Regions from separate parts of the Homo sapiens genome. Here all the other regions are linked to region 1. Evidence: promoter capture Hi-C in 16 types of primary human blood cells and fetal thymus (Javierre and others, 2016). All regions are on one chromosome and are shown on one strand. Each heading gives the region's core, a stretch centred on a gene start or on the middle of the fragment in contact. The rest is flanking DNA. Distances are from core to core; before and after follow the strand shown.

Region 1 (3,657 bases), core at 636-3,135:
CCACCCCCATGCCTGGCTAATTTTTTGTATTTTGTAGAGACCGGGTTTCACCACGTTAGCCAGGATGGTCTCGATCTCCTGACCTAGTGATCCCCCCGCCTCGGCCTCCCAAAGTGCTGGGATTATAGGCGTGAGCCACCGTGCCTGGCCTCTTAGGGGCTTTTGTAGGCTTTTCTCTGTCAAGGCAGCAGACCCTGAAGAGTTTAGGTGGGATTGGGTGGTGTTTTTTTTTTTTTCCCCCACTGGGAATGAGTAGAAGGGGGGACACTACATTCATTCAACACTTACTGGGTGCCTATTACATACAAGAGCTGTGTCAAGAGCTTCACATATTCTGCCTAAATGTTCCCAACAATGTTTGTGGGGTGGGCTGTATCATTCCCATGTTTGAGATATATAAGCTGAGGCCTGGAACTTGAAGGGCCCTGTCTGAAGTCCCAAAACTAGAAAACGATTTAGCCAAAATTTTTGTTTTAATCCGTATGTATGGCTCTCCAGGCTGATGGAGCTGGTCATATTTTGCAGTACCCAGAGGCTATACACCTGAGTACAGGCAGAAGCTACCCAGAGGATGATCTCTCCAGGCTTCTAAAGTATTTCTTTACTTGTTCAATGGTAATATTACTACTTTATACAGTTGTTGTGAGGATTAAATATGGTACGTAGGCCGGGTGTGGGGGTTCACGCTTGTAATCCCAGTTTGAGAGGTCGAAGTGGGAGGGTCGCTTGAGTCTAGGAGTTCGAAACCAGCCTGGGCAACGTGGTGAAACCTCGTCTCTACAAAAAACAAACGAACAAAGAAACACCCAAAAATTAGCCAAGCGTAGTGGCGCATGCCTGTAGTCCCAGCTACTCGGGAGGCTGAGGTAGAAGGATCGCTTGAGCCCGGGAGGTCGAGGCTGCAGTGAGCCGTAGTAGTGCCACTGCACTCCAGCCTGGGCGACAGAACGAGATCTTGTCTCAAAAATAAAATATTTAAAAATGTGGTATATAAAGCATTTGGCATATAGTACATTCAATACAAGCTGGTTGTTACTAGTAATGATAAAGTGCGCCTACCGTTTTGCTAGCACGTAACGTCTTCACTGGGCTAAATCAGCCCGATTCTAACCATTGACTCTGTGGTGCTGGAGCCCTAGATCAATGGTCAGAGGCCAGCAGGAGGTGCAGAGGTCCGGATCAAGTGCCATTTCCCTCTCTAGAAGTACTCAAACCCTCATCTCTGCCCTCATCCCTGCCAGCGCCTACCTCGACGCGGACGAGAAGCTGTGGTACCGCGACTGCTGGCAGGCCATGACCCACGGGCAGGCGGGCAATCAGCACCCGCGGCCTGGGAAGCTGTGGTAGCGTACAGCCGGTCGCCATGGCGACCAGGCCCCAGAGGCCCCCCCGCGGCGGGGGCGGAGTCAGGGATGCGCCACGCCCCCGAGCCTAGCGCCCGCGGGCTGGGAGTAGGACAAAGTAGCAAAGGTGGACTGGGACCCGGCAGCGGGTGCCCTGAGAGTCAACCACTACAGCCGATTTGACCCCAGGTACCAGAACTGAGGCAGGGGGATGAACAGAGGCCATGGGGAGGGAAGTGTGCTGAGAGGCCGGAGCCGCTTTGCCGGCGGGAATGGTAGTTTTCGGTGTCCCGACGTCTCGATGGGACAGGCTTATGGCTGAGGACGGTTATACTACATCTCCCAGAATTCTCTACCAGCCCGAGTTGCTCCGCCTCTCGAGAGCTCTGCATTGTGGGGTATGGAGTTCGAAATGTGGTAAGGCGTGTCAGTGTCCAAAGAGGGGTGCCGGACTCGGACTCGGTTTCCCTGCGGCCCAGGGAGGCTCACGGGCCATTGGCTGAGCGGGGCGGATCTGGTCCCGCTCCTCCCCGCCCCCAGTGACACAATAGTAGCTCCCTCCAAGATGGCGGCAGCGACGGCAGACCCGGGAGCTGGGAACCCGCAGCCTGGGGACTCCTCCGGCGGGGGCGCTGGGGGCGGGCTGCCGTCCCCTGGGGAGCAGGAGCTGAGCCGGCGCTTGCAGCGCCTGTATCCCGCGGTCAACCAGCAAGAGACTCCGCTGCCGCGCTCCTGGAGCCCCAAGGACAAATACAACTACATTGGTCTCTCCCAGGGCAACCTCCGCGTCCACTACAAAGGTATCGGCCCGTCAGGCTGGGGGGAATTAAGGCTAGAGCGTCCGTGGGGTGGCTCTGCTGCCAGGCCCCCGCCCTATCACCTCCCTTTCCCTGCCTAGGTGCTCCAAGTTAGGGCTTGGCCCTTTCAGGATGTCCAGGGTGGTGAGGCTGAACAGGCCGAGGGCTGACTGCCTGTTCTCTGTCCTGAGACACCTGCCGTCAAGAGAACCGCAACAGGTGTCCAAACCCAGTGCTGGGCCGGACCTTCCACTCCAGGGCCTCCGTGCTTATCCTAGGCTGGCGCCAACGGCAGCGGGACCTTTCGCCACTGCTTAGAAGAAAGGGGTGGTCACATACCTACCATTAGCGTGAGACTCATGGGCTTCCCCACCTGCCAGGCATCCTAGACTGAGCCTGGGGTTCCGTGCTAGAGTTTGGGGGGTGTCTTCCAGGTCGGCCTCATCCTTCTTCCCCTGGCCTCCCAGGTGGGCTGCCTGGATTCTAGAGAGGCTGCCAGCAGCACTTGAGTATCTCTCACATTGCCTCTACCCTTGTTTTGTTTGTATGGGCAGTGTCTCAGGCAGGACTGCTGTTCTCAGGAGGAGGTGAGGCAAAGGTGGAAGGTTTAAGTGTTTATTCAGTTGTCTAATGATTCCTCGGCCTGTGTAAGTGCGTCCTCTGGCCACAGAGGAGTGGAGTTGTCATGGAGGAGTTGCAGAGAAAAATGAGGCTTCCATTTGCATTTCCTTCTGCTGAAATTTCTTACTTGCCCTCTCCTGTTAGGTCATGGCAAAAATCACAAAGATGCGGCCTCAGTGCGTGCCACCCACCCCATACCTGCTGCCTGTGGCATTTATTACTTTGAAGTGAAGATTGTCAGCAAAGGAAGAGATGGGTAAGCCCTTCATGACCACCCTCTTTCCCTGATCATGGAGCTGATCCCTGTGGTCAGAGTTCAGGTCCTTTGGCTGGCACTTGTTGCTGATGTGAGCTGGGGAGCCGCATGGGTCTGGGCTGCCATTATTTCCTGACTGTGGGCATGGTCTGGTCTAAGCAGCAGATCTTGATGGCCAGTGGGTGTGTTGGGGGTAAAGCAGGGATTATTTTTAGTGATGATGTAATTTGATACCTAGAAGGTTAGGCAAACAAGTAACAAGTTTACTTTAAAAATTTAGTGTCCAGAATGGAGTTTCCCTCATGAGCATGTGGTGTTTTTGTGACTTCCTTCCTTTCACATTCTTGCTGTATTCATGAGGTTCTTTTTTATGGCATTTAGTCATGTGGAGGCCCTGGTAGCCTTCAAAGAGATAGTAGAGTCTTTGCAGCATTCATGAAAGCTTCTGTGGCCACCGGCCTGTCATCTCAGGGTAAACAGCATACACATGATCAGAATCAGGTGACCTTGCTGCTCATAAACTTGTTTTTCAGTCCAAGGACTTGAACACTACTAGTTGGATCAACTTTAGGAAGGTCCTCATTAAAGTCAGCATTAGGAGCCAGGCACGGTGGCTCACGCCTGTAATCCCAGCAATTTG
Region 2 (3,241 bases), core at 740-3,239, 260 kb after region 1:
CCTCCCTGACCCACATGACAGCAGGGTAGGGGGTGGGAGAATGCTATGGGCAGGTTTGCCCTGTGGGAGGCCCCTGTGAGGCAGAGGGGGTCAGGAGAGATACAGAGGTGGGAGGACAAGGGTTCTCTCTGCCCCTCCACCATCTCAGGAACCTGGGCATGGGCCTGGGTGTAGGAGGCCATCCAGCCTGCCTTCAAGCCACTGATGGAGAGAGGCTGACTGGCTGTCCTGGGGTTGATTCATGCTGCTCTGAGCCAGATAGGCATCATGTGCTTCACCTGGCTGTGCTCACAGTGCCCTCATTCCAGCTCCTGTCCCCTTCCGATCCTCACACCCACCCCTGGCTAGAGCTGAATACTAGGCTCTGGCCTCAGGACTCTGCAGAGCACAGAGTCTAGGGTCTGTCCCTTCCCAGCATTGGAGAGCAGGGATTCTTAGTGACAACGCCAGTGGACCCCTTGGCTGGGATGATGACATTTTTCCATCCTCCATTTCTTGCCCAAGCCCTGCTCTCTCCTGTGTACTGAGCTGTGAGCTCATGCAGGCTCAGTCACCCCCATCTGCACTTTCCCAGGACCTGGTCAACCAGTGTTCACTTCCTCTTCCCCCACCATGACAGGCTATGCTTTTGATGCAGGTGGATAGCCCTGCTCTACCAATGGGCCTCTTGTGGGGGCCTCAGGACTGAGGGCTGCTAGGGGCGGTTCTGGGATTGCCGGCCTCCTCCAGGGACCCCTGGGGCAGGCCCCAGCTGTGGCCAGCCTTGGGTGCTGGCCTGGTCTCCATCATTTGTTTGCCTCCTCTGCCCCATGCTGCTCCAGCTCACCACCCCAAATACTGAGCTGCACCATCCCGTGCCACCCTTCGTTACCCAGAGAGCAAAGAGCCGCGCCAGTGTGCAGAGGGCTGCCTGCCTGCCCCTGCCCACCCTCGCCCCAGCGTCTGGAATGAGCCACTTGCATCCACACAGGTGCTTCCTGTGCTTCTTCCTGTTGCCGTTTTTTCTGCTCAGCTTGGCTTCCCCAGCAGGTGGTTAAAGCCCCAGCCAAACCTCTTCATACCTAGCTCTAAAACACTGGGGGGCAGGGCTCCCTGGGGATCTGGGTCACCCTCCAGAGGACTGTTGGCACTTCACTGGCTCTTCCTGAGGGCAGGCTCCCCAACGTGACACGTCCTGCACAGGCCAAGCTGCTGCCACAGGTACTGGGACATCAGAGTGGCCTCAATGAGTCAGGGAAGTGCTGCGTATGCACCACCTCCTTGCCCCTGGATACTGGAAGTGCTGAGGGAGAGGGGAAGGGTGGAGAGCCTGTTTCTCTAGCCACGGGTGTGGGCCTCCCTCAGCCCCTCCTTAGAACAGGCCTGCCATCCTGAAGTCCCACCCCACACTCCAGTTCCTCACGCAGGACTCAGCCTTCTGGGGTTAACACATTCACTGGCCAGGCAGCTCTGGGGCAAGGCGAGGCGGGGCAAAGGCAAGCCCTCTCCTGGGATCTCTGCTTCCTGAAGCAGCACAGGTTGGCCGGCTGTTGGGGATCACAGAGTTCAGGCACGTTTGTTATTATAGAGGGGGAGACAGCTGGAGAGGGAAGGGACTTGCTGTCTTGGGTCACAGGTTAGCCATCCAGGTCTCCTGCCTCCCAGGTCCCAGCTCTTCCCCTCCGCAAGGAGCTCCTCTCCCCTGCCATCCAGCTTCAAGGAGCTCCTTCAGCCCCCTCTGCAGAAAGCTGCCCAGGCTGCAGAAGACCCAAACCTGGCATCTGCTGACGCGGATCTGCTGCCCCCTGGTGGGCAGAAGCTCCAGCCACCCCGTGCCTCCTTTCCCTTCCTGTTTTTCCTTTCCCTTCCCCTTTGCTCCCAGGCCACAGCCTGGGATTGGCACCCTTTGGTGTTTTCTGGGCCAACTCCAGTTTAGCTCCACCTTGGGCCGTAGTTCCCAGGCCCAGGGTAGGCCCCACCTGCAGGCTGAACCACCCTTTTCCCCTGCTCTCTTCTCCAAGCCCAGTTCCAGCCTCTGGGCTTTCTTCCACCTGAATTTCCAGGGCAAGTGCACATGGCACTGTCACAGCTGCAGTGTGAACACACCAGTGTCAGGCAGGGCCACAGCCAGAGGGTGTTGGAGCAGAGGGTCAGGAGTGTACCAGGCCATGTAGGAAAGACATTTTGCTTTTTTATTTTCTGTAAAACTCTGTAAATAAAATACAAAACCAAGGGATGTGGCTGGGCAGCGGCAGGGTGGCCAAGCCCCAGACACTGATTTGTGGCAAGGGATGTGCTGAGCCGAGGCTGGGAGGCACTTGACTGCAGGCACTGACTCTCCAACCCCAGGGGCAACAGAAGAATATATTAGATTTTCATTGCTAGGAATCTGTGGGGGAGGGGTATCTGGAGCCAGCCCTTACCCTCCCTGCCAGTGCCTGGTGAGCCCTGAAAGTGGGGGGAAAGGGGCACCAGGAACCCATGGGTGAATAGTTTAGAATGCTGTGCTGGCCATGCTGCCAGGCCCAAAGATGCGGGGCAGGGCGTCCAGGGACTCCTCCAGCCGTCGATGGGCAGACTGTCCCTCTTCTCCTGTAATGAGTGAGGATGAGGTCAAGGGTGGCCCTAGCCCCATCCCACTCTCCCACCCCTGGCGCCATCTCTCCTACTCCCATCAGCCAAGATGTCCCAGAACTCCACCCATCTCTTCCATCCCCCAGCCTCACCACACTGCTGTAGGCTTTGCCGGGCAGCTTCCCTCACAGCTTCTGTGTCAGTTTGGCAGAGGTACACCAGGGGCTCAATGCCCTCGGGAGCCTGTCAGGGGAGGGAGCATTGAGGTGGGCTCAGGGGAGCAGATGGGAGGGTTTCAGGGGTGGGGGTGCCGGAAGCGGACAGAGGGGTGGGAGGGTTGGCAGGGGTCACCTTGATGCAGCCTAGGGCCAGGCAGCCAGCCACTCGAGTCTGCACGTCCTCATCCTCCAGCTGGTCCAGGAAGCACAGGAGGGCCTGTGGAAGGGTGGGAGGACAGACTTAGCCAGACAGTGGGAGTCCAGGACCCCAGCCCTCGCCCTCAAGGGAGCCCTGTCCAACTCACCCTCTCCCGGAAGGTAGGGCCCAGTGACAGGCTCCGGAGCTGGGTGCTGACAGCAGCCATGACCTTGTTGTTGCCATGGACGAGCAGGGAGCTGAGGGCCCGCAGCCCGTCCCTTCGCAGACGCCCCTCGGGCGCCAATCTCAGGGCCTTCAGCACAACAGCCTG
Region 3 (3,407 bases), core at 123-2,622, 320 kb after region 1:
CCTCGTCCATCACTGCCCATGGGGCTGATACACCTGTGTGCACACACTCAGGTGAAGACAGCTGCTGCCCGTAGGTGAGGTAAGACACTGAGCACCTGTGTGGGAGGAGATCTTCCACTCCCACTCTGTCCACACCAGACCATGAAGAGCTCTCCATAGCATGGGTGCTGACCAGGCCCAGCCTGGGTGACAGAGTGAGACCCTGACTCAAAGAAAAAGACATAATGAGGTGTGATTTTAATTTCTTGGATGTCCCAGTATATATAAATGTTGGGAGTATGGATTGCTTCATTTCATTTTAAATAGCATTTTTTTTTTAAGATGGAGTCTCACTCTGTCACCCAGGTTGGAGTGCAGTGGTGCGATCTCTGCTCACTGCAGTCTCTGCCTCCCGTGTTACAAGTGATTCTCCTGCCTCAGCCTCCCGGGTAGGTGGGATTACAGGCATGTGCCACCATGCCTGAATAACTTTTGTATTTTTAGTAGAGATAGGGTTTCACCATATTGGCCAAGCTGGTTTGAACTCCTGACCTCCAGTGATCCGCCCACCTTGGCCTCCCAAAATGCTGGGATTACAGGCGTGAGCCACCGTGCCTGGCCACCCTTTATCTTCTTTTCTTTTTGAGACAGGATCTTGCTCTGTCGCTCAGCCTGGAGTGTGGTGATGCAGTCATAGCTCACTGCACTCTTGAATCCCTGTGCTCAAGCCATCCTCCCACCTCAGCCTCTACTACAGGCATGCACCACTACACCCAGCTATTTTTTTATTTTTTGTAGCAACGGGGTCTCACCATGATACCCAGGCTGGTCTTAAACCCCTGGCCTTGTGATCCTCCCACCTTGGCCTCTCAAAATGCTGGAATTACAGGTGTGAGCCACCATACCTGGCCCCCTTCATCTTTTTTCCACTGCCTTGTGCCAACCCAGTTTGTGCACTGGGGCCTTGCGATCCTCTCAAAGCTGATTCAGCCTGCATTCCTTTCCCAGATGGACACGTGTGTGATAAACAGCTCTGCAGTGGGGTGAGGGAAGGCAGGGGCAGCAGGGTCCTGTATGTCCTGCCATCTCCACAAAAGGGCAGTCCTTACCCCAGCCTTGTGCTGATGAGACCAGGCATAGACAGTCCTGACGACACAGGGCGGAAGGGAGCAGCCATTAGTGCTAATGAGGCAGGCGGCCTGAAAGCTTTGTACTCTGCAGTGGCTCGCCCACCCAGGGAACAGTTCGTTCTGTTTCCTTGGCTTCCAGGAACCCTAGGCAGAAAGGGGTTTGGGGACAGGAGCAGGAGTGGGCGGTCTTGGAGAAACCTGGAGGGAGAAAGGGAGGGGAGGACCAGAAATGTAGTCAGGAGGGCCTAGGATTGGTTAGGTGGGCTTTTCCTTCCCCTTTCCCTCCAAAGAAACCCAGGTTCTGGTTCTGCACCTACCCCTGCCCAACAGTGGCCATTGGCCCATCACCCGCTCCAATGTCCTTGACCCGAATTCTTGGAAGCACAGGAAACAACATGCCACATAGGGGTTGAGTAAGCATCTCTGGGGCCACAAATTAAATTAAGCTTTCAGGGCCGCCTGCCTTGTTATTGCTAATGGTTCTAGCCCTGCTCAGCTCCTAGGTCCCTGTCCTGTGGAAATTTGTGGACCCTGGGCACCCTCTCTTGCTCCCAAATTTTAATCGGCTCCTGGAAACCTCACCCCAAATTGGAGATAGGCACTCCTCTTGTAGAACAAAAGGCTCAGGTTCAGGGAGTGAGGGCCTGAACTGTGCCCCCACCCTCCAGGAAGGGTCCTTCACGGCCTGGCTGCAGGGATCAGTCACGTGTGGCCCTTCATTAGGCCCTGCCATATAAGCCAAGGGCACGGGGTGGCCGGGAACTCTCTAGGCAAGAATCCCGGAGGCAGAGGTGAGTCCTCAGGTTGGGCAGGGACTCCTCCTCTCTGTGGGGTCTCTATCTGGGCACCTAGAGGGGACTCCAAGGATAAGGAGGGACTAAGTGGTACATCTTCCTGCTGAGCCAGGCCATGCTGACCGCAGCGGTGCTGAGCTGTGCCCTGCTGCTGGCACTGCCTGCCACGCGAGGAGCCCAGATGGGCTTGGCCCCCATGGAGGGCATCAGAAGGCCTGACCAGGCCCTGCTCCCAGAGCTCCCAGGTCAGTGTGAGCAAGGGTGGGACTGGGCGGGGCCTGAATACCCTCTGGCCACAAATAGTCTCCCCTGGCATAAACCCTCTTTCTCCCTTCCCAAACCCTCCCCTGGGAGGTGGGTGCTTTGTGCATGGGGGTTCCTGCCCTCACATCCTCTGCCCCAGGCCTGGGCCTGCGGGCCCCACTGAAGAAGACAACTGCAGAACAGGCAGAAGAGGATCTGTTGCAGGAGGCTCAGGCCTTGGCAGAGGTAACTGCTCAGGGAAAAGGGTAAGGTGGTGGCCCTTGGGAGGGGGCATTGGGTATTAGCTCCTCTCCCCAGCTCCAAACTCCCTCACCAGCGACGACACTACCGACCACCCCTTCCCATGCTCCACTGCCATCCTGCACAGGTTGGGACAGGTAAGATCCCTGGATCTGTCTTTAGAGGCCTGTGCTGGTTCCCCACCCCTGCAGGTACTAGACCTGCAGGACCGCGAGCCCCGCTCCTCACGTCGCTGCGTAAGGCTGCATGAGTCCTGCCTGGGACAGCAGGTGCCTTGCTGTGACCCATGTGCCACGTGCTACTGCCGCTTCTTCAATGCCTTCTGCTACTGCCGCAAGCTGGGTACTGCCATGAATCCCTGCAGCCGCACCTAGCTGGCCAACGTCAGGGTCGGGGCTAGGGTAGGGGCAAGGAAACTCGAATAAAGGATGGGACCAACCCCAAGGCTGTGGTTATTTCAAACGTGGCCGTCAAAGGAGGGAGGGTTCATGGAGGGGGTGGGAGTGTCACCAAGCCAAGAAACCACACATACTCTTATCCCAGGGCCTGGGCTACCCTATCATAGGAGGCACATACACGGGCGCTTTTAGGGGTCCTGGTGCCCCTGGGAAAAATAGAGAAGAGCCGCACTCCAGCTTTCGAAAATCTTGTACAGCAAGTGCGGGGAACGCAGGACGCAGCGTGGCACAGGGGCTATCACTCCTGGCTAACAAATAAGCCTTAGGCTCCAGGGCTTGCTGCTACTTCCACGCAAAGCCTGCCCCTCATCCTGTTACCAGAGGGAAGGCCAGGAGTGTGCGTTGTTCAGGTCCTTAGCGTTTCGAACAAAGAATTGAACAAAACCCAGAAAGTAACAAACGAATGACACACAGGAAGGAAGCAGACAGCTGGGATTTGTTAAAGCGAGAAAGCACTACGCAGGGTGGGAGTGGGCCTGAGCAAGAGGCTGAAGGGGCTCAGTTACAAAGTTTTCCGGGTTTTAAGTACTCCTTTTGCGGTC

Evidence for each region. The method cuts DNA at HindIII sites, captures the fragments that hold promoters and counts their contacts. A CHiCAGO score of 5 or more calls a contact.
Region 2: a fragment that was not itself captured here is called in contact with the fragment with the promoter of RANBP10 in region 1 in 1 of 17 cell types (neutrophils); the score reaches 6.1 in neutrophils.
Region 3: a fragment that was not itself captured here is called in contact with the fragment with the promoter of RANBP10 in region 1 in 1 of 17 cell types (naive B cells); the score reaches 6.1 in naive B cells.

What each region holds. Positions count from the first base shown.
Region 1 is chr16:67,804,788-67,808,444 of GRCh38, reverse strand. RANBP10 (RAN binding protein 10) reads left to right here and starts at 1,885. Exons shown (of 14, transcript NM_020850.3): 1 at 1,885-2,143; 2 at 2,906-3,017. The coding sequence starts at 1,909. TSNAXIP1 (translin associated factor X interacting protein 1) reads right to left here and starts at 1,556. Exons shown (of 16, transcript NM_001288990.3): 1 at 1,249-1,556. The coding sequence starts at 1,295. RefSeq lists silencers at 1,327-1,446, 1,947-2,166 and enhancers at 1,587-1,816, 1,522-2,141, 2,142-2,762. The HindIII fragment of the contact is 6,221 bases long and covers 1-3,461 here.
Region 2 is chr16:67,545,696-67,548,936 of GRCh38, reverse strand. It overlaps RIPOR1 (RHO family interacting cell polarization regulator 1), which reads right to left. Exons shown (of 22, transcript NM_024519.4): 19 at 3,077-3,241; 20 at 2,905-2,988; 21 at 2,706-2,796; 22 at 2,151-2,571. The coding sequence ends at 2,474. Among named protein-coding and RNA genes, the nearest start is that of CTCF-DT, 15 kb to the left of the region's middle. RefSeq lists a silencer at 1,637-1,931 and an enhancer at 1,881-1,940. The HindIII fragment of the contact is 5,451 bases long and covers 1-3,241 here.
Region 3 is chr16:67,482,010-67,485,416 of GRCh38, reverse strand. AGRP (agouti related neuropeptide) reads left to right here and starts at 1,870. Exons shown (of 4, transcript NM_001138.2): 1 at 1,870-1,900; 2 at 2,016-2,148; 3 at 2,307-2,392; 4 at 2,599-2,846. The coding sequence starts at 2,019. The coding sequence ends at 2,781. It overlaps ATP6V0D1-DT (ATP6V0D1 divergent transcript), which reads right to left. Exons shown (of 4, transcript NR_184227.1): 2 at 1,089-1,307. The HindIII fragment of the contact is 370 bases long and covers 1,188-1,557 here.